Regions from separate parts of the Homo sapiens genome. Here all the other regions are linked to region 2. Evidence: promoter capture Hi-C in 16 types of primary human blood cells and fetal thymus (Javierre and others, 2016). All regions are on one chromosome and are shown on one strand. The core of a region is centred on a gene start or on the middle of the fragment in contact, and the rest is flanking DNA. Distances in the headings are between cores, read along the strand shown. Region 1 holds the start of NRROS (negative regulator of reactive oxygen species). Region 2 holds the start of TM4SF19 (transmembrane 4 L six family member 19). Region 3 has its middle 24 kb from the start of CEP19. Region 4 holds the start of PAK2 (p21 (RAC1) activated kinase 2).

Region 1 (4,860 bases), core at 1,064-3,563, 300 kb after region 2:
GAAATTCTATAGAGAATCTCCCAATGTATAAAACATATCAAAGTAGAATTCTTGGGATGTGGAGGGAATGGGGTACCTGGATCCCACCTGCCAGTCTTTAGGCATTCATGAGGAACCCTTGAACCTGCTGAACCCTGTAAAAGGGCTTTAAGCAGAGAGTGAGATGACCCAATACACATTTTAGAAAGATGCCCGTGGCAGCTAGGTGGAGTTGACATTGGACAGGGATGAGATTAGGGGCAGGGAGCGAGTTTCAGGAGGCTATGAAAGTGGTCCAGACATGAGCTGATGAGGTCTAGACCCAGGGCAACAGCCTAAGGATGAAAAGCAGGTTGGATTCCAGAAACATTTCTGAGTTAGAATCAGCAGGAATTGGGGGTCAATTAGATATGAAGGATGAAGTCTGTGAGGGCTGGACTGCCTGGGCTGAAACATACCGTAAAGTGTGACAGCCATACAGGAGAGAAACTGCTGGGACAAAGGATAAGAGTTGAGTTTGGGGCCAGGCACAGTGGCTCATGCCTGTAATCCCAGGACTCTGAGACTGAGGTGGGCGGATCACCTGAGGTCAGGAGTTTGAGACCACCCTGGCCAACATGGTGAAATCCCATCTCTACTAAAAACACAAAAATTAGCTGGGCGTGGTGGTGGGCGCCTGTAATTCCAGCTACTTGGGAGGTTGAGGCAGGAGAATCACTTGAACCTGGGAGGCAGAGGTTGCAGTGAGCTGAGATTGCGCCACTGCTCCAGCCTGGGTGACAGAGCAAGACTGTCTCAAAAAAAAAGAGAGAGAGTTGAGTTTGGGATACATCATGTTATGGTGACTCTGGGACATGTAGCAGTTGATTGACCAGTAGACAGTTAAAAATGCAAGTCTGGATCTTCTCTCGTGGAAGAGAATGTTGGAGCTAGAAATTAAAATTGGGGAGTTACCAACTGATTGGTAGACACAAAAGACATGAAGTAGAGAATGTGCATACAAGAGAGAAAGAGGCCTGAATCAAGCACCTGGGTTTGCAACAATTTGATCTTTATTTAGCTTTTTCATTGGTGTGATTGTTATTACCATTATGAGATAATATTTTATTTTTAAAATTATTTTTATTTTTTTAAAGACGGAGTCACACTCTATCACACAGGCTGAAGTGCAATGGCGTGATCTTGGCTCACTGCAGCCTCAACCTCCCTGTGCTCAGGTGATCCTCCCACCTCAGCCTCCCAAATAGCTGGGACTACAGGTGCGTGCCACCAGGTCTGGCTAAGTTTTAAATTTTTTGTACATATGGAGTCTCAGTATGTTGCCCAGGCTGGTCTTGCACTCAGGCGGTCCACCTGCCTTGGTCTGCCAAAATGCTAGGATTACAAGCCTGAGCCTCTGTGCCCGGCCATGAGTGAATATTGTAGAAAGCAGAGACAATGTGCCAGATGTTTGGAGTGAAAAGGACTTGGCTCCTGTTCTCTTAGGATGGACAATGCTACACACAATCCCAAATCACAGGCTATAAGAGAGGTGACCCAATCCTGCAGGACAGTTCAACGTTTCAGATTTGAAGGGGAGTGAGAGAGATCAGAACTGGAGGCCCCTTGTCTGAGCCCCCGACTATGGTGGTCCACGTCACTCCACACGCAGCAGGCACTGTAAATATTTCACCTTCTCTAGACGACAGTAGTTCCTCGAGAACAGGAGCGCTGGGGTAATGCATATGAAGCTCTTAGCACAGTGTCTGGCGCTGCTTCAATGATGGCTATATGATCAATTATTCTTACTCCTTTGAATTCTTGGCAAGAGCTGGCAGGGAACTTTGTACACATCAGGTACAAAAAAACCCATCCGCGCAGTCTAAGATCAAGAAGCTCTTGGCACTCTCTGACAGTCCTCGACAAAGCAATTCCCCTTCTTTCTAACACAGGGTCCGTAAAGGAGATGATCCACAAGGACCGGCTGAGTGGATAAGAAGACAGACTGGCTGAGCGGCTGACCCTGCCAGACGACAGGCTGTGCCTCTTTACCACGGTGCTGCCGTTCCCAAAGTCGGCCTCAGCTTGGTCCTTGGCTGGAAGCTCGTAGCAAAGTTTCTGGGTCAGCAGACCTCATAGGCAAGGGGCCCCTAGCTGGCCGCCCCCAGCCCTGCCAAGGCACCAACGCAAGAAAGCCGGGGGAGCCTCGGTCGCATTGCTGGAAGATCGTCTAAACATCCCCGCTGCTCGGCCGCTAGGCCGGCAGGTGTTCGGGCCCCGCTCCCCCGGCCCGCCCCACCCCCGCGCCCGCGCCGCGCTTCCCTCTAAGAGGCCGGGTCTGAGTGAGCCTGTGCTGAGTCGCCGAGCAGCCCGCTCTCCATGTGACTTCAGTTTCCGTCCGTTCCTTCCGCTGGTGCTAAAATAATCTGATGCCCCACAGCAAGGAGGTAGCCCAGCCCCGCGTTCGGCTGCTCTCGAGGAGGCCGGAGCCCCCGGAGACGATGCGCCCCGCGCAGCCGCCTGCGCCTGCGGGAGCCGTGAGTATTTCCCGCGTGGGGGCGTCCCCGGGGCACAGCCGGGGCCCTTCTCCAGGTGGGCGAGCTCGAGCGAGGTTGGGTGGTAGGAGGTCAGCGTCCGCGGCCCGCAGCTCAGGGCTCACGAGGAAGCTGTGGCTTGCTGCGTCCAAGCGCCGCCGCTTTTGTGCTGGGCGTGGGGGCTGCAGCTCTGGGTGGAGGTGGAAATACCTCCCTCCAGGAGCACTTAGAGCTGAGAAAGGTGGTGCGACGTAGTGGAAACCACGAGGGCTTCAGATTCAGACGTGGGTTTGAGTCCTGGCTCTGCAGGGAGCATGTGAGCAGACAGTTAAGGTTTCTGAGCCTCAGTTTTCTCATCTGCAAAATGGGAACAGAGATGCTCCCTCCCTGGGCTGGGCGACTGGATATGATGAGACCGCTCTGTGCACACTCAGCATGCTGAGCACTGGGCTCTCCTTTCCTGTCCCACAACGTGGATTGAGAACCACTATCTCATAGATGAAGACACTAAGACTGGTTAACAGCAACACCTATCACAGATGCCGTCCACGTGCCAGGCCTGTCCAAGGCCCTGGGGATACAGCTGTGAAAATGTGCAAAGCCCCTTCTCCCACAGAACGTTTGTCCTTGGGAGATTCACTGGGGCTCTGTGACTTGGATCTTAGCCTAGACTTAGATCCATGGCTTATCAGAGGGAGACTAACAGGAGGGCGACGAAGACTCGGACGCTCTTCCGTAGCCCTCGTGGCCCCTGCATGTGGGCCGGCTTCTGAAGGGGTCAGCGTACTTCCCCACGTACCCAGGAGCTAGACGGAAAGAAGTAAGGAGCCACTGGTGTGGCTTTGTGCTGCCTCTGAGAGAAGGTGGACACGTGCCAGTTGGTGGCTGCGACTGGAGGAGGCCGGATCGGGGGTCCTAGGAATGGAGCCTCTCCGGACAGGGCTGGTCGGGGCTGCTGTGCTTCCCTAGGGGCTGAGGGGACCCCACCGGAGGCTTCTTCATGATGGGCACAGCCCGTTAGGAGTCTGGGTGCTAGAAACATTCAGCGTCTGTGGCCCTCCATGCTTTCCTGTGTGCTCCTCACCTGCCGGCTGTGACACACAGACTGTTCTGTGGATGCTGAGGGTTTGCTGGGCTTTACATTTACAATACGTATTTATTCTCCTCACACACCTCTTAGGTTTGTGTGTGTGTGCCCGAGAGTCCCTAAAGGAGATTATAGAATCATGGGCCCAGGAAAAAACCTTAACTCCTGCCTTTAGGTTAAAAAAACAAAACAAAACAAAACAAAACAAAACAAACTCAGCTTCACAAAGAAGGCACTTTTTAAAAATATATATATTTATTTATTTATTTTTAGAGACAGGCTCTTGCTCTGTTGCCCAGACTGGAGTTCTGTGGCACGATCACAGATCACTGCAGCCTCAAACTCTTGGGCTCAAATAATGCTCCTGCTTCAGTCACCTGAGGAGCTAGGACAACAGGTGCACACCACCATGCCAGCTAATTTTTAAAATTTTTTTGTAGACACAGGATCTTGCTGTGTTGCCCAGGCTGGTCTCAAACTCCTGGGCTCAAGCAATCCTCCTGCCTTGGCCTCCCAAAGTGCTGGGAGTGTGGGCGTGAGTCACCGCCCCCAGCTTTCATGTAATGAGTGCCCTCATGGGAACTTCATGAAAACACATTCTCTTATAGTTTTTAAATTCATCATCCAAGAGTTCCTGCTCTTTGATGATGAGACATACCTGGTAGACTCCAAAACAGAGAGCAGACGCCTAGTATCTTTGTTCTGGGGTGTGCATTAAGAGTACATTGACCTGTCTGTCTCCAGTCTTGACTCTTTTGGAAGAGAGATGCTAGTACTGATGACAACCTGCATTCTGGCTGCGGTGTGCGTCCACACTGCACAGTGTGCACCAGACTCTCGTATGGACAATGACTGTCCCTCACATCAGGCGCAGATCCATTTTAGAGCCTCAGAAGTCAGGAGAGGGTGGACTTTCAACCACGACTGAAAACACTGTCTTTCTTAGGACATGCTGTGTGTATGACACACTTACAGATGTCTGTGCTCACTGATGCTTGTTGATGTGTCATCGCACATCAGTGACAAACATTTGTCATGTTTTTGCCTTTGGTGGAACTTCTTTATTATACTCACTTTCCTCCCAAACCATTTTTCTCAACTTCATCATGAAGCAAATGTCATGTGGTCATTCTGTGATGGGGCTCAGGGCTAGGTTAGGTGATGATTTCTGAAAGCTCAGAGACGTGAAGGAAAAAGGACATCAGTGCTTGGATCTTAGCTCTTATAAGCCTCACGTGCAACAATAAACCCGAGTTCAAGAATCAGATTCTTAGATAGATT
Region 2 (5,603 bases), core at 2,749-5,248:
TTTGAGATGGAGTCTTGCTCTGTCTCCCAGGCTGGAGCTCAGAAACAGACCCGGTCCAGGATAAATAATTTTTTTTTTTCTTGAGACAGAGTCTCACTCTGTCGCTCAGGCTGGAGTGCAGTGGCGCGATCTCAGCTCACTGCAACCTCCGCCTCCCCGGTTCAAGCGATTGTTCTGCCTCAGACTCCCCAGTAGCTGGGACTACAGCTGCACACCACCATGCCCGGCTAATTTTTGTATTTTTAGTAAAGACAGGGTTTCACCATGTTGGCCAGGCTGGTCTTGAACTCCTGGTCTCAAGTGATCCTCCTGCCTCGGTTTCCCAAAGTGCTGGAATTACAGGTGTGAGCCACCAAACCCGGCCAGACTGTAGCTTATGGTAAAGAAGACAAGGGGAGGGGTGCCCTGGGAGGGTGGGGGTAGGAGAGAGGAAGGGTGCCCTGAGAAGGTGGGGGTTAGGAGAAGGGAGGGGTGCACTGGGAGGGTGGGTGTAGGAGAGGGAAGGGTGCCCTGAGAAGGTGGGGGTTAGGAGAAGGGAGGGGTGCACTGGGAGGGTGGGTGTAGGAGAGGGAAGGGTGCCCTGAGAAGGTGGGGGTTAGGAGAAGGGAGGGGTGCACTGGGAGGGTGGGTGTAGGAGAGGGAAGGGATGCCCTGAGAAGGTGGGGGTTAGGAGAAGGGAGGGGTGCACTGGGAGGGTGGGGGTAGGAGAGGGAAGGGATGCCCTGAGAAGGTGGGGGTTGGAGAGGGGAGGGGTGCTCTGGGAGGGTGGGGGTAGGAGAGGGGAGAGGTGCCCTGGGAGGGTGGCCAGAGGACAGGGGAGGAGTGCACAGGGAGAGTGGGGGTAGGAGAGGGGAGGGATGCACGGGGAGGGTGGAGGTAGCAGAGGGGAGGGGTGCATGGGGAGGGTGGGGGCAGGAGAGGGCAGGGGTGCTTGGGGAGGGGTTGTAGGAAAGAGGAGGGGTGCACTGGGAGGGTGGGGGTAGGAGAGGGGAGGGGTGCACTGGGAGGGTGTGGGTAGGAGAGGGGAGGGGTGCCCTGGGAGGGTGTGGGTAGGAGAGGGGAGGGGTGCCCTGGGAGGGTGGGGGTAGGAGAGGGGAGGGGTGCCCTGGGAGGGTGGGGGTAGGAGAGAGGTGGGGTGCCCTGAGAGGGTGGGCGTAGGATATGAAGCAACAGTGACTCCTACCCCAGGGGCCCAAGGGTCCTGGGGCAGGGTGGGGTCAGGAATCGGGAGGGATGGGGTGTCTCTTCCCCCATCAACCCTCTGGCTGACAGGCCACCGGACTCCTCAGTCACAGCAAGGAACCTGTCCTGCTCCTGGGAGCAGGGCGCCTGTGGAGAACGGCCCCCTCACAGCCTGCCCACACTGCTGCGATGTCCCCGCATGTCTGCACATCCTCCCTCCGAGACGGTCCCATCGTGCAGTGCGGGGCTTGCAGTGTGTAATTCTGTGTTGAGGCAAATTAACCACCCAGGGTGTTAACAACTCACAACTTTAATCCACTGCCCACCCAGATGTCTGACCGGGGCCCAAGGAAAGATGGGTGTGTGGTTGGCCTTTCAAGCGGGTGCTCTAGATCATGGGGCCAGGAGACGCCGTTGTGCAGGAATGCATTTAGTGCCTTCAAATCACGGCACCTCTGAGAAAGCACCGTCTACACACTTCAGCAACATCAACCCCCCTGACGATCTCTTCTACAGAAAACGTTCCCATCAGAAAAGTCTGTTTTTTTTGTTTTTGTTTTTGTTTTGTTTTTTGTTTTTTTTTTGAGACAGAGTTTCACTCTTGTTGCCCAGGCTGGAGTGCAATGGCGCGGCCTCAGCTCACTGCTACCTCCGCCTCCTGGGTTCAAGTGATTCTCCTGCCTCAGACTCCTGAGTAGCTGGGATTACAGGTGCACACCACTACGCCCGGCTAATTTTGTATTTTTAGTAGAGATGGGGTTTCTCCAGGTTAGCCACGCTGGTCTTGAACTCCTGACCTCAGGTGATTCACCTACCTTGGCCTCCTAAAGTGCTGGGATTACAGGTGTGAGCCACAGCGCCCAGCCCAGAAAACTCTTAAAGGGGAAACTAAAAATGATGGACAGCGAGGGAAAACTACCAGCTGGAGCATGGCTTTTGGATGAGTGGAATTCAGAGCCCTGGCTGTCCGCCAATCAAACACTAAAAGCACTTGCCGCACTGCGGCTTCGTGTGAATTTCACCCCTCCTCCTGACTTTATTCCCCTAGAAATTATAACATTTGGAGAAACCCTTCCAAAAATGTGAACCAGGAGGTTAGCAAAGAGGTGGCCTAATTTGATATCTGAAGAGACAAGCAAGATCAGAAGGTAAAACCTTAAAACCAGGCTGCTGGGGAGTTCCTTGTTCTGTCCTGAGGTCCTAGCTAGGTGAGCACGTCATCGGCTAGATGTCCAGGCAACAACAGAAGTGATCGGCTCAATTCCATGGAGGAAGAGACCGCACATTCTCTACATCTGTGTCTCTCCCTCGCCACCCAGCAAGGCTTTTCTTTCATTCTTCCTTCAGTCGGATATTTATTAAGTGATCACTACCTGACAGACACTTGGGGGGCTAGGGATATAACGATGAAAAAGATGTAATCCCTTTCCTTGAGGAGCTTAAAGTCTAGTGGGGACACTGCTGACGCAAAAAGCAATTCTTTTTTTTTTTTTTTTTTTTTTTTTTTGAGACACAGTCTCGCTCTTGTTGCCCAGGCTGGAGTGCAGCGGCATGCTCTTGGCTCACTGCAACCTCCGCCTCTCGGGTTCAAGTTATTCTCCTGCCTCAGCCTCCCAAGTAGCTGGAATTACAGGCATGCACCACGCCCGGCTAATTTTGTATTTTTAGTAGTGATGGGTTTTCGCCATGTGGGTCAGGCTGGCCAAAAAGTAATTCTAATCAAGTGTGGTAAGAAATAGAGCAGACATGAGCAGGGCGGGAGAGGGCCTCTACCCCAGTAATGTCAGGTGACTATCAGGTGATGGCCAGGCGGTTGTTACACTGTCTTTCTAAAATAATATTGGTCACAGCCAGCGTTGGGAAAGACAGTCTCCCAATAGATAGAAAATACCTGAACTTGGTGATCAGCAGCTTCCTGGTAAGAGCTCAGGAATTGGGCGAGTGGGCTCAAGCATCTACACTAAGAAGCAAAATGGTGGAGTTTAGCTGGTGTGTGTGACCTTCCTCTAGTGCTGCTCCGCGGGTAAGGGAAAAACGCCTCAAGTGAGCATGCGCACGACTTCAGTAAACACACTGCGCATGCGGCCCCTCCCAAGTGCCTGTGCGGCAGGCAGGCGCCAAGTCAAGGGTCTAACAGCACATTTGGGTGTCTCAAGTCACGCACTTGGCCCTTTTCCAAGTGTACTTTACTTCCTTTCATTGCTGCTCAAAAACTTTTTAATAAACCTTCACTCCTGCTCTCAAACTTGCTTCAGCCTCTCCCTCTGCCTTAAACCCACTTCTGCCCCTCAGCCGAATCTCTCCCCCGAGAAGGCAAGGATTGAGTTTGCTGCAGACTCGCTGGATTCACAGCTGGTAACAGTAAGTACCAGGCAGGGGCATCCAACTTAAGGTGTCATGGAAGCACATGGAGGAACCTAATCCTATCTGGCAGAAGCAAAACGAAGCTTCCCGGAGGAAGGGCTGCCCATGCCCAAACTTGATGGACGATGAGATACTAGGCAGGAAGAGTATTCTAGGTGCAAAGGCCAGAAGTTGACAGACTGAGGCAACAGGAGAAGGTAAGTGAATGGCGCAAAGTCACACAGACGCCAAGCTGCAGAGCCAGGCTCACTGGAGTGGAAGCGTGCACTCTCATCTGTGAGGCTAGGCTGTTCCCTGGCCGTCACCTCACCCTTTCATCTCTGCTTACCTGCATCTGGTGTCAAGAATCAGAATGGGAGAGACAGAACCTGGAGAAAGGCTGCGTCTTCAGAGTGGGGCTCCACTCCTCCAGCTCCAGGGCTGGACCTGAAGGTTGTCTTTCCAGGACTCTTTCCAGGAGGGCCAGGGAGGCTCTGTATATACGTAGAGGTCACCCAGGCGTGTGTGTGTGCGCGCCCCCACGCCCCTGCCCACAGGCCTGCATTGAAGGCGCTTCCGCTCCCCGGAGAGCCCTGTCCTGATGACCCACCCTCTGCTCATTTTCATGTGATTCTAAGGCAGGAAACGGGAGACATGGCCTCATGAGCTCCGCTGTCCTGATGAGTCACTGGATGCACCCGTGAGAAACACCTCACCCTCCGCTCTCCCCAGGCAGCAACACTTGCCACACCCCAGCTGTTCCTGTCCTCATCTGCCACCCCGCGAAGAATTTCGGCTCTTTGACAGAACAGCACCGAGCAGGGCAGCCACCCCTTTTTCCTCATCACTCTCCTTACCTTGCCCTTGGCTGACTCGATGTGTTGCATGGTTCCTGTACTAGACGTCTAACTTTTTTTTTTTTTTTTTTTTGAGACAGGGTCTCACTCTGTCACCCAGGCTGGAGTGCAGTGGCATGATCTCGGCTCACTGCAACCTCCGCCTCCCACACTCAAGCAATCCTCCCACCTCAGCCTCCTGAGTAGCTGGGATTACAGGCACCTGCCACCATGCCCGGCTAATGTTTGTATTTTTAATAGAGACGGGGTTTTGCCATTTTGGCCAGGCTGGTCTCGAACTGCTGACCTCAGGTGTTCGCCTCAGCCTCCCAAAGTGCTGAGATTACAGGTGTGAGCCACCGCACTCAGCCTCTTGTTCAAGCCCCAGGCCACTATCATCTTGTACCATACTCTCACCAAATTGCTGAGGATTTTGTGGTGCTCTCTGTGTGGGAGATCCGTGACCCTCTATGGACAAGCTCCTATTCAAGATTCAGTTCAAACATTCCCAGTGAAGTCTGCCAGGATTTCTTTACTCCGAGTTAGGTACTTCTTTCTCTATGCTCCCATTGCATTTTAAACATCTAGATATTATATACAGTAAAGTGCACAAATCTTTTCTTTTCTTTTTTTTTTTTTTGAGACGGAGTTTCACTCTTGTTCCCAGGCTGGAGTGCAGTGGCACAATCTCAGCTCACTGCAACCTCTGCCTCCTGGCTTCAAGCAATTCTCCTGCCTCAGCCTCCCAAGTAGCTGGGATTACAGGCACGTGCCACCACGCCTGGCTAATTTTGTATTTTTAGTAGAAACACGGTTTCTCCATGTTGGTCAGGCTGGTCTCAAACTCCCGACCTCAGGCGATCCACCCGCCTCCGCCTCCCAAAGTGCTGGGATTACAGGTGTGAGCCAGCACGCCCAGCCTAAAGTGCACAAATCTTAATGTTAAAGTCTGATGAATTTTTACATGTATACCCTGGTGAACCAGCACAGAAATCAAGATACAGGACATTCCAAATCCCCAGAGGTTTCATTGTGTCGCCTGTCATTCGTATCCCTTGTCCCCAGTGTTAACTTTCATTTTGGCTCTTATAATAATTGATTAGGTTTTAGTTGTTCTTGAATTTCACATAAATGGAATCAAACAGTTTTCTTTAAAAAAAAAAAAAAAAAAGGCGGTTTTGCTGTGTCATCCAGGCGGGAGTGCAGTGGCACAATCATGACTCACTGCAGCCTTTTGCCTTC
Region 3 (5,350 bases), core at 1,343-3,842, 350 kb after region 2:
TTAAGTGATGAAAGAATTGAGTAATGGAACTTCACCCATTCTAACCATGTGATAAAGTAGAAAAGGTTCAAAGATTTAGTAGGGGTTTAAAATGAGTTTAAGAGAATGGGATTACAATTCCAATCCCATTGGTAAGACAAATTTTATTTCTAAAAATTCATGTATTTCCCCCCTTTATACAACTGCAAATGCGAGTTTGGAGCTAGAGTGGGAGAGGAAAGCAAAGAATGAAGGGAAAGAAATAGGAGGAAGATTCTAGAAATGGGGGCAGCATGGGAGAAGTGGTGGGAGCAAAGTCCTGGCATATAGATGCCACAATCAAAACTTCTGCCCTGTTTCCTAGCTGCTTGGTGTCAGCACTGGGGCCATTCCCCCAGCCTGTGACCTTGGCATCCCCTATGTTGACCTGGGCTCTTCCTCTGTCCTTCCACCTGGATGTCCTTTAGTGGGTCCTGGCCAGGGTCCTATTGCTCCCTTTAACCTCTGGAGCTTTTGTCTGCTACATTTTCTTACACTGATGCTGACTCAGACCTAATGCTGGGTGAAGTTGTGATGTGGCTGAAGTGTCTGGGTGTAATTCAAGAATCCTCGAGGGAGAATCAGGAGTTTTGGGTTCCGGTTCCAACTTGGTAATTTACCAAGTCACAGCCTCCTGGAGCCTGGTTTTCCCTATCAATAAAATGAAGAAATCTGTCTTCTCTAGTTCATAAGTTGTCAAGATCAAATGTGTAAATACATAGGAAGTTCTTAGGAAAGGGAAGGCTTCTATCACTGTAAAGAAGTATCATTGATAACTAGTATATGATAGTCTGCTGCCGTCTGCCTTCCCCATATGTACCCTATCATGCTCTGAGTCCCTCCTTCCTGCCTTTTCCCCATCTCTTATCACAACCTGCTTTTTGTATGTGATTGCTATTTACACCTTGATAATATTAAATCAGAGATATACACAATTAAATTTGAGATAGTTACGCCTTGTCCAGAAATATTCACATATTAAGCTTGATCGCTATTTGGGTGGTAAAAAGTTAGTCCTTGTTCAAGAAATGTTAACCAACAGTTTGGGGTAGGAGGGAGAAGTGAGGCTTTCCTTGTGTTCTGAAATCACTATATTTCATGCCTGAATTAGCCTGTCTGAGCTGGAATTCAGAGTGAATCTTTGGATCCATGTTTTAAAGGGACAACTATAGAGACTCCCATTGCTTTTTCTATGCACATAGTTTTTGTGCGGTTTTTACTGGAATCTTATTACAGTTACAGTTACCATCCCATGGACCAACATGGTCCATCGAGGGCCTTGCAGTGAGAGGGTCAGTCCATAGATGCTGGAGCCACATGACGTGGGTTCAAATTTCAACTCTCCCACTTATTAGTGTGTGACCTTGGACAGGCTGCTTCACTGCTCCGGCCCTCAGTTTTCTAATTTGCAAAATGGGGGAGATTAATAATACCTATCTCCAGAGGTTTGTTGGGAGGATTAAATAATAGGCCTAAAACACCTAGAGCAGTGTCTGGCACTGAGTACACATTAGCTGGAATTTATTTCAATTGCATGTTTGAAAAAATTTAAACCATTCAGAAATTTAATTTTAAAAATAAAAAATGAAAAGTCACTTAAGCTCTCTATCTCCCACTTTAACCCCACTCCTCTTTCCACAGGCAAACTGTTAACAGTCACTTTGCACACATCATTCAAGAGTTTTGTTTTGTTTTTGTTTTTGTTTTGAGACTGAGTTTTGCTCTTGTTGCCCAGGCTGGAGTGCAATGGTGTGATCTCGGCTCACTGCAACCTCTGCCTCCCAGGCTCAAGCGATTCTCCTGCCTCAGCCTCCCGAGTAGCTGGGATTAAAGGCATGCGCCACCACGCCCGGCTAAATTTTGTATTTTTAGTAGAGATGGGGTTTCTACATGTTGGTTAGGCTGGTCTCAAACTCCTGCCCTCAGGTGATCCGCCCGCCTCGGCCTCCCAAAGTCCTGGGATCACAGGTGTGAGCCACTGCACCTGGCCTCATTCAAGAGTTTTTACTGATATATTTTTTAAATCAAAGAATTATAATATACTATTTGGCAACTTGTTTTCCTCACTTAACCATGTAGCTAGGAGTTATTTCCAGGTCACTATGCCCAGTGCTACCTTCTTCTGCCTAAGGGTTTCATAGTATGCCGCAGCATGGACACTGCGCAATTCACTTAACCAATGTCTTATTGATGGATATTTGGAGTGTTTCCAGTTTTCGATATTTGGAGTGTTTCCAGTTTTCCACGATCATATTCGCTTTTTGCACATTCTTTTCTCTTTATAATTCAGAACCATCAAGCTGAAGCCCAGCAGGGCTTCCTCATTTCATCATCATAGCTCATTTCCTATTGAGCAAAGCTTCTTCCTCGGGTCAGCTCTTGCCACACTTCTTTCTACAGAAACAAGAAGTGGAGTTATCTGTCCTGGGCTTCGGGAGTGAACACACCCATTCCCACGCTGCTGCTGCCCACGCTGCTTTGCCCACACAGCACCACTGTCCCTGGGGATCCTGAATAACAATCTGCTGAGCAAAATCAACATCCCTTTGGCTACAGCGAGGCTAATTGCACTTAATAGGTTGTAAGAGTTCTGGTACAGACAGGCTCCTTCCCATGATGTATTTCACCACCTCATTGAAGAGATGTGTGTTCCAGTGAGAGTCTGTTCCTCCGTGTCATCCCAACAAATGCTCCTATGTCCAGGAGCCATTGTCAGGAATGCTCGTTCCTCTCCCTTCTACACAGACAAATCTCCCTTTGAGGACACACTCAACTCCAACTCCTTTTGTGAAGCTTTCCCTGTTGCTCCAGCCTGCATGAATCCTTCCCTCCGCCGAATTTCTTCAGCAAGAATGCCTTCTAGGCCAGGCACGGTGGCTCATGCCTGTAATCCCAGCACTTTGGGAGGCCGAGGCGGGCAGATCACCTGAGGTCGGGAGTTCGAGACCAGCCTGACCAACATGGAGAAACCCTGTCTCTACTAAAATACAAAATTAGCTGGGTGTGGTGGTGTGTGCCTATAATCCTAGCTACTCAGGAGGCTGAGGCAGGAGAATCACTTGAACCCGGGAGGCGGAGGCGGAGGTTGTGGTGAGCTGAGATGGCGCCACTGCACTCCAGCCTGGGCAACAAGAGCGAAACTCCATCTGAAAAAAAAAAAAAAAAAAAAAAAAAGAATGCCTTCTAAGTGCATAGCACCTGTGTGAGGGTGAAACCCTGGCCCACAGAGCCAGTGGTCGTAGGATAGTTAAAATAGAAGGCCACAGTATATTGGGAGGCCAAGGCGGGCGGATCACGAGGTCAGGAGATCGAGACCATCCTGGCTAACATGGTGAAACCCCGTCTCTACTAAAAATACAAGAAATTAGCCGGGCGTGGTGGCGGGCGCCTGTAGTCCCAGCTACTCGGGAGGCTGAGGCAGGAGAATGGCGTGAACCTGGGAGGCGGGGCTTGCAGTGAGCAGAGATCGTGCCACTGCACTCCAGCCTGGGCGACAGAGCAAGACTCCGTCTCAAAAAAAAAAAAAAAAAGGCCATAGTATATCAGAATTCCATAGAAATAAGATTATTACAAAAAGCCTATAAGCAGAGAGACACTGGAATATACTGAAGCTAGTATGAGCAAAAGGGAATTGTGGGTTGGAACACCAATACCCACAGCAACAGTGAAGGAAAGCAAAAGCCTCGCACAGCGCTTCTCAAAGTGTGGTCTGGGGGCTTGTTAGAAATGCAATTTCTTGGCCAGGCGCAGTGGCTCACACCTGTAATCCCAGCACTTTGGGAGGCCAAGGCAGGCGGATCACCTGAGGTCAGGAGTTCAAGACCAGCCTGGCCAACACGGCAAAACCCTGTCCCTACTAAAAATATAAAAATTAGCCAGGCGTGGTGGCACACGTCTGTAATCCCAGCTACTCAGGAGGCTGAGACAGGATAATTGCTTAAACCTGGGAGGTGGGAGTTGCAGTGAGCTGAGATTGCGCCACTGCACTCCAGGCTGGGTGACAAGAGCGAGACTCTATCTCAAACAAATTAAAAAAAGAAAAAGGAAAATAAATGCAAATTCTTAGGCTCCACCCCAGACTTACTGAATCAGAAATTCTGGGGGTGGAACGCAGCAATCTGCGCTATCGTGAGTCCCACAGATGAGTCTGGTGCATGCTGAAGTCTAAGAACCACTAGCTTGAGTAGAGATTCAAAGTTTGGGTCTCTAGCACAGAAAGACTTTTGCAACAACGAGTCTCGGGAGGCGTAAAGCAAGCAGAGAGGACTGCAGCTGTTAAAAGTAGTCCTAAGAAGATTCTAGGTAGGAGAACTCAAGCGTGGGGAGCTGGGAAACCCCAGCTGGCAGGGAGGGGTCCTACCTGGCGAGCTGCCCCCCAAGGGCCTGCGCTGGTCAAGTGTCTCCCGAAGGGTCTGCCTGCGGGCAGGAGAAACACAGGTGTCCAGGACTAGTGTTCTGACTGATACGTGGCCCTAGGATTTCTCTCCTGGGACCACTTGGAGAGGCAACCCTTGGCTGCCAGAGGAAGAGACTGATGGAGGCAGCAGGACGGGAGGAAGGCCTGTGGGAGGAGGGTGCCAGAGTGGGAAGGGAGCATGTGAGGAGAGTCTTGATGGTTAATGCCAATTACCTCTAGAAAATTACCAGGCTTTACAGACTCAAGAGCTACTACCCAAAAGATTGAAAAAACTGCCTTAAAAAAAAAAAAAGCAACCCACCCCAGGGAAGAGAGAGAGCTATTTAGAAAACTCCAGAAGTAAATAAGCTCAGACAAATCTGAGATTTATCTGGTCTCTGCTCCTGAGTCCTGTCTGAGAATCAGGCACCTAAGAGACGGGGTGTTGTGTCCACCAGAGACGGTGGAGAGGCCGGGCACGGTGGCTCACACCTGTAATCCCAGCACTTCGGGAGGCCGAGGTGGGCAGATCACCTGAGGTCAGGAGTTCAAGACCAGCCTGGCCAAGGTGGTGAGACTCTGTCTCTTCTAAAAATACAAAAATTAGCCAGACTTGGTGGCGCACACCTGTAATCCCAGCTACTCGGGAGGCTGAGGCAGGAGAATCGCTTGAACCCGGGAGGCAGAGGATGCAGTAAGCCAAGATCACGCCATTGCACTCCAGCCTGGGTGACAGAGCGAGACTCCATCTCAAAAAAGAAAAGAGATAGCGAAGAAAGCCATCATCTCTGGTGGTTTGCAGGTTTGATTTTCATAGCAGAACCCTTAATGAAGATCTCAAGTAGAACTCTGAAATGGGAAAAACTTCAACATGTAAGAATTGAGCTGCTGTGGATAAATTAGGAGTCCAGTTCCCACCTCCTTATTCTTTTTATC
Region 4 (5,609 bases), core at 1,530-4,029, 400 kb after region 2:
TCTCATTAGGAGTATGGTAGAGACCTTAACAATCTATCCCCATGTCTCTTAAGCTTGCTTTCATTTTTCCTGTCTCTAGGCTGTTCTCAGTAATTTCTTTTGGTCTGTCTTCCAGTTTACTAATTTTCTCTTCAATTGTGTGTAATCTGCTATTTAACCAAACATTGGCTTTGGTTTCAGTTATTCTTTGTTTCTAGAAATTCTACTTAATTCTTTTGTTGTTGTTGTTTTTGTTTTGAGACGGAGTTTTGCTCTTGTTGCCCAGGCTGGAGTGCAATGGCATGTTCTTGGCTTACTGCAACCTCCACCTCCCAGGTTCAAGTGATTCTCCTGCCTCAGCCTCCTGAGTAGGTGGGACTACAGGTGCCCACCACCACGCCTGGCTAATTTTTGCATTTTTAGTAGAGACTGGGGTTTCACCATGTTGGCCAGGCTGGTCTCGAACTCCTGACCTCGGGTGATCTGCCCACCTCGGCCTCCCAAACTGCTGGGATTACAGGTGTGAGCCACCGCGCCTGGCCTACTTATTTCATTTTCAAAGCTGTTTGGTCGTTAAAAAAAAAAAGCATCTTGTTTCTTGCTCGTGTTTTCTAGCTCCTGTCTTACTTTCTTTAATCATTTAAATAGGCGTACTGTATATTCTGTAGCCATCAATTCCAGCAGCTAAAGTCTGTGTGGGTTTCATTATGTTCTTTGTAGTTTCTATTGACTCACTCATCGCTGCTTATTTCCTCAGGTGTATTGTATTTCGGGTGCTCATGTTTGGCTTCGGAAATCCTGTTTATCTGTGAAATCCTTTGAGACCGAGGTTGAGGGTACACCTGTGCAGTCAGGATTTGTATTTGTTTCTTCCAGGCCCCCCAGAACTCCAGCCTGGGACCACTTTCTTGACAAATTTGAACTTTAAAACCTTAGTGAGGGAAAATTCTAAAGGGTTATTAATTCTAAAGGGAAAATTTTCTTCTGCCCTGCAAGCCCACTGCAGGCCAAAGTAAACAAATGTCCTGTGTGTCTCCCTGGGCTAGCATAGGGTTTTTTTTCCCCCCAGTCTGTTCTTGGAGGGTATAGCGCCTTGAATTTCCAGTCCTATGCAGGATCACAGTCCTGACTTCTTGTATAGGCCCAAGTCCTTGTCTTTAGTTTCCTGTGCACCTATTAAAACTCTAGAGATTTCTGAGATAAGTAGGTGCCCTCAACACAACCATGGCTTCACTGCCCTGCTTACCACTCTGGTGTCCTGCCCCTTCTTCAGGTTGAGTGTGAAATTTGGAAGACTGTCAGAAACATTCTATTTTCATTCTTGCAAGTTATGCCTTTGAAAGGATGTCTTATTTATCCAGTGTTTCTGTGTGTTTAATAATCAGAGCATTTTTCAGGTTATCTCTTACTGTGCCATGTTGCTCCTTGATTCCTTTCTCTCCTGTACCCACTGCATCAATTGAGTTTTTTGCTCTACATTGATAGAGAAGCACAATTCCTCTTTCTTTCCACTGCCTTCCTACTTTATTTCCCTTCTATTCTTGCATCTCTATACTCCATTATCCACATTGCAGTCTAGTGATCTTAAAGTGTAAGCCAGGTAACATCGCTTTCCTGCTTAAAAAAGCCTTTTAATGGTTTTTTGTAATATAGACTTTTTACCATGGCATTCAGGATCTTTCATGACCTGAATCTTGTCTGCTGTAGTGTTTTCTTAATAGTACCGCCTTCTTGTTCTAGGCCCCAGCTACACAGGCCTTCTTAACTGACCGTAGCAAGCCCTTTTCTTTCTTCTCCTGCCTGTATTGCTTTTCTCTGGGTGCTTCTTATTGCTGTCTCTTTCTGTTCTTGCCTTAAGTGTCACCTCCTTAACGAGGCCTTCTCCGACCACCCTATCCAAAGTAACCTCGCCAAGTTTTTTCTTATACCAGGTGTGACTACTTTAATTACTGCGTCCTCATATAAGCTCCACAAAGGCTTGGTGAATCGTGTTCACCCTTGCATTTCTTTTGTGTTTTTTGTTTTGTTTTTGAGGCATGACGACTCTGTCACGCTGAAGTGCAGTGGCCCGATCTTGGCTCACTGCAGCCTCCTCCTCCTGGGTTCAAGCGATTCTCCTGCCTTAGTCTCCCGAGTAGCTGGGACTACAGATGCGTGCCACCATGCCCAGCTAATTTTTGTATTTTTAGTAGAAACGGGGTTTCATCGTGTTGGCCAGGCTGGTCTCGAACTCCCGACCTCAGGTGATCCGCCTGCCTCAGCCTCCCAAAGTGCTGGGATTACAGGCGTGAGCCACCGCACCTGAACCACCCTTGTATTTCTGATGCTTAACAGTGTCTAGTCCATATCAGACACTCAAATATTTGTAGAATAAGTGAAACATTGATGAACTCCTCCGTGGATAAAATAGGGAAGTCTTAATTTGCAAGGAGGTGATACTTAATTTAGCAGCAAAATTTTAGTTAAGAATTTGTAAGCAAAAAAGCAAAATGGATAACGGATGAATTCCCAGAAACAAATGTCGCGGAGCAGATGTGTATAACAGCAATCGTCTGTCAGCGTCTTCCGTCGGCAGAGACCTGCTTGGAGACAATGCTGAATTAAATGAGGGACTGGCTGCTCCTCTCAATACAAAGACTACCCAAGGAATAAAAGCAACGTCTATCACCGAACTACTACTCCCAGCGGCCCCCGCGCGGGCCTGCCCATGGGAGGTGGCGCTCGTCTCCGCCCCGGGGAGCTCCGGCTTCGGGGCGGGAGGGGTTCTGGGTTCTGGCCCCGCCCCGCCCCGCTCCCCGCCGTCTTCCTCCCCCAGGGTTGTGGCCACGCGCAGCGGCGGCGGTTGTTCCGCTTCCCCTCCGGCCCGGGCCGTCGCCATTGCCGAAGGCTCCCTCCCCTCCCCTCCCTGGCGTGCGCAGGACTCCGCCGCCGCTGGGCCTAGCGGTAGCAGCGGCTGCTCCAGCGCGGCGTCTCTTCCCGCCCCGCTTCCCCTTCCCTCCCCTCCCCTCCCCGCACCGCGCGCTAGCCCGGGGCGGCTCCGCAGCCCGCCGGGAGCTCTGACCGAGGCGCCTCGCTGGGGCGGGGACCTTGCCTTGCCCGGGGTAAGTGCACACAGGCCGGCCGGCGCGGGACGCAGGCCGGGTCTCTTCCTCCTCCTTCCTTCTCCGTGGCCTGGCGGGCGGGAGCGGCCCGGGACGGCCGACCTGCCCCGCGCGGGGCCGGGGAGCCGCCACCTGCGTGCTGGGAGCCGCAGCTCCTGGGGCGGTGGCTCATTGTCTGCTCCCCAGGGCCGTTTTCTTCGCTGGCTTTAGCCAGAAATGGGAAGCTCGCTGGGCTGCGGAGGTCTGACTCTTCCTGGACCCAGCCCTGCTCTGAACCTCGCGGCACCACGGTCTCTGCCGACTCTCGGTCTTCCCTCCCCTCGCGTTTCACCCTCTTCCTTTGCTCCGTTTTCTTAATGCTGGACCAGACTCTCCGGTTTTGTTCCTTGATTTTTCCTCTCACTGATTCTCAGCCCCTGCTTGCTCGCTCTCTGTTCACCCGTTTCACTGCTCAGGAATATTGTCGCGAGTAGCTTGACTGTTTTCTCAGCTCCAGCCTGTAACCTCTTTTCCACATTCCACATTGGTAAAAACGTAGAGCGTCCCGGGCGCTTGAGGGCCACCGCTTACGAACTGATCTTTCGGAGCTTCTCCTCGCTCCTGTTTGAGCTTCAGCCTAGGGGTGAAATTTGCTTCTTTAGATAACTTAGGTGAAGTTAAGATTGGTTTTTCACCATGTTTGGCTCTCTTGGAAACACACGCACGCACAAACACAAAACGTTGCCACTCAACCTTTTAACTAATTCTTTAAAGATAAGTCATCCAAGAACAGAAGCGTGTCATCGTCAGTGGGTGTGAGGTTGTACCCATCCTTGTATCTTAATTTTAGTAGTACTCTCCCTGGGCAGTGTGAGCGTGATTTGTTGTCCCTTGATAAATAACGAACTCCGGTTGATATCATTATCTCACTTCTGCGTTACAGGCGATGTGTCCTTTCTTTGTTTTCTTTTTTAACCTTTATAAAAAGACAAAATGGTTAGGCCTAAAATTAAACTACGAAGAGCTGTGTTTTGGATCAAGGTTGTGCACGTCACGTTTTTTCCCCTGCTGTGTTCGACTCTTCCGCTCTTATAAGTAGGCAGGATATTGAAATGTACAAGAATTTGCTCTGGGGATTTTGTTTTTGTAGGGTTGTCCAATAGAATAACACTCAGTAAAGTTACATTGGGATGAAGGCAGTGAATAGTAATTTTTAAAGCAGGTTAAAACTTGTCAACTTTGCCAGAAGGTCTGTGGCTTCTGTAAAGCCCACTCATGCTCGTGTATATATGAAGAGCCTTTTTCATGTTCTGTTAGGAGTATGGATTTCAGGCAACTTTTTCACTGTGTCATCCTCGGCTATTAAATCTTTCGAGCTACTTATTAGCCAAGCACATTGATTGACACTTATTACGGAAAGTGAACCTGTAATAGATGTAGGTCTTAAACCAACTTTCCGATTTGGTAACAGGTTGACCTAAATTCAGTGTATTTTGTGTTTTCACTAAGTAGCCCATTGTTACCTTTCCCTCCAGCAAGGCTCTGAAAAAAGTGGCTCCAATACTCAGCTTCAATACTGTCATCATTTCTTAAATAGTAGTATCAGTTGTCCTTAACTTAATGGATGTTTTATTGGCCTGAGGGATTAAGGTGTAGAAAGGTTGGAGTTTTGTTGGAGTTTGAAACTTGGTCTGTAGATGTTGGCTTCTCTGCCAGTTTCTTCTAATCAGCAGATATTTTTATGAAGGAAGAGTTCCTGGGTATTTCACTTCCCTTAGGGCCTTGGTTTATGGTTTACTCTCATTCAGAGAGAGATACTATTCTGGACTCCGTGCTATTTAATACTAACCTTGCAAACCCAAATTCAAAATTAAGTTTATAGTTCGAGTATACAGGCGATAGGGCTCTCTGATCTTTATGATAGACAGGTTCCCAAGTAGATGCGGTTAACAATTAATATTTCTTTTTTTTTTTTTTTTTTGAGACGGAGTTTCAGTTGCCCAGGCTGGAGTGCAATGGTGCGATCACCGCAACCTCCGCCTCCTGGGTTCAAGCGATTCTCCTGTCTCAGCCTGCTGAGTAGCTGGGATTACAGGCACGCGCCACCACGCGCGGCTAATTTTGTATTTTTAGTAGAGATGGGGTTTCACCGTGTTGGTTAGGCTGGTCTCGAACTCCCGACCTCAGGTCATCTGCCCGCCTCAGCCTCCCAAAATGCTGGGATAGGCGTGAGCCACGGCACACCACCAACAGTTTCTATTTCAATTATACTTTTTAAGAGAGACTAGAACTTGTTCAGGTAGCTAAAGATAAACTTTCAATTATACTTTTCTAATATTTAAGAACTTCAAGTAGCCAAGGATAAAATGAGTAGGAATTGTTAGATTCTTCCTTTTATCCATCAAAATCGATTATTATTATAATAATATTTGAGTATATTTCTTTTGGCTTTCTGACTTTTACACTTTTGGTTAAAATTTGAAACTGGGTCTTCTTCGCCGGGCGCGGTGGCTCACGCCTGTAATCCCAGCACTTTGGGAGGCCGAGGCG

The links. The method cuts DNA at HindIII sites, captures the fragments that hold promoters and counts their contacts. A CHiCAGO score of 5 or more calls a contact.
Region 1: a contact is called between the fragment with the promoter of NRROS here and the fragment with the promoter of TM4SF19 in region 2, in 6 of 17 cell types (M0 macrophages, M2 macrophages, naive CD8 T cells and 3 more). The highest score is 12.9, in M0 macrophages.
Region 3: a contact is called between a fragment that was not itself captured here and the fragment with the promoter of TM4SF19 in region 2, in 2 of 17 cell types (M2 macrophages and M0 macrophages). The highest score is 7.1, in M2 macrophages.
Region 4: the fragment with the promoter of PAK2 here is called in contact with the fragment with the promoter of TM4SF19 in region 2 in 7 of 17 cell types (naive CD8 T cells, monocytes, total B cells and 4 more); the score reaches 13.5 in naive CD8 T cells.

The regions. Positions count from the first base shown.
Region 1 is chr3:196,637,381-196,642,240 of GRCh38, forward strand. It overlaps NRROS (negative regulator of reactive oxygen species), which reads left to right and starts at 2,314. Exons shown (of 3, transcript NM_198565.3): 1 at 2,314-2,495. RefSeq lists silencers at 1,951-2,380, 2,401-2,500 and enhancers at 2,951-3,070, 4,239-4,588, 4,609-4,668. The HindIII fragment of the contact is 14,541 bases long and covers 1-4,860 here.
Region 2 is chr3:196,334,390-196,339,992 of GRCh38, forward strand. It overlaps TM4SF19 (transmembrane 4 L six family member 19), which reads right to left and starts at 3,999. Exons shown (of 5, transcript NM_138461.4): 1 at 3,875-3,999. TM4SF19-DYNLT2B (TM4SF19-DYNLT2B readthrough (NMD candidate)) reads right to left here and starts at 4,031. Exons shown (of 6, transcript NR_037950.1): 1 at 3,875-4,031. RefSeq lists enhancers at 3,523-4,722, 4,089-4,383 and a silencer at 4,132-4,303. The HindIII fragment of the contact is 5,119 bases long and covers 3,628-5,603 here.
Region 3 is chr3:196,686,060-196,691,409 of GRCh38, forward strand. No RefSeq gene overlaps it. Among named protein-coding and RNA genes, the nearest start is that of CEP19, 24 kb to the right of the region's middle. The HindIII fragment of the contact is 434 bases long and covers 2,376-2,809 here.
Region 4 is chr3:196,737,078-196,742,686 of GRCh38, forward strand. PAK2 (p21 (RAC1) activated kinase 2) reads left to right here and starts at 2,780. Exons shown (of 15, transcript NM_002577.4): 1 at 2,780-3,080. RefSeq lists a silencer at 2,571-3,360. The HindIII fragment of the contact is 10,729 bases long and covers 52-5,609 here.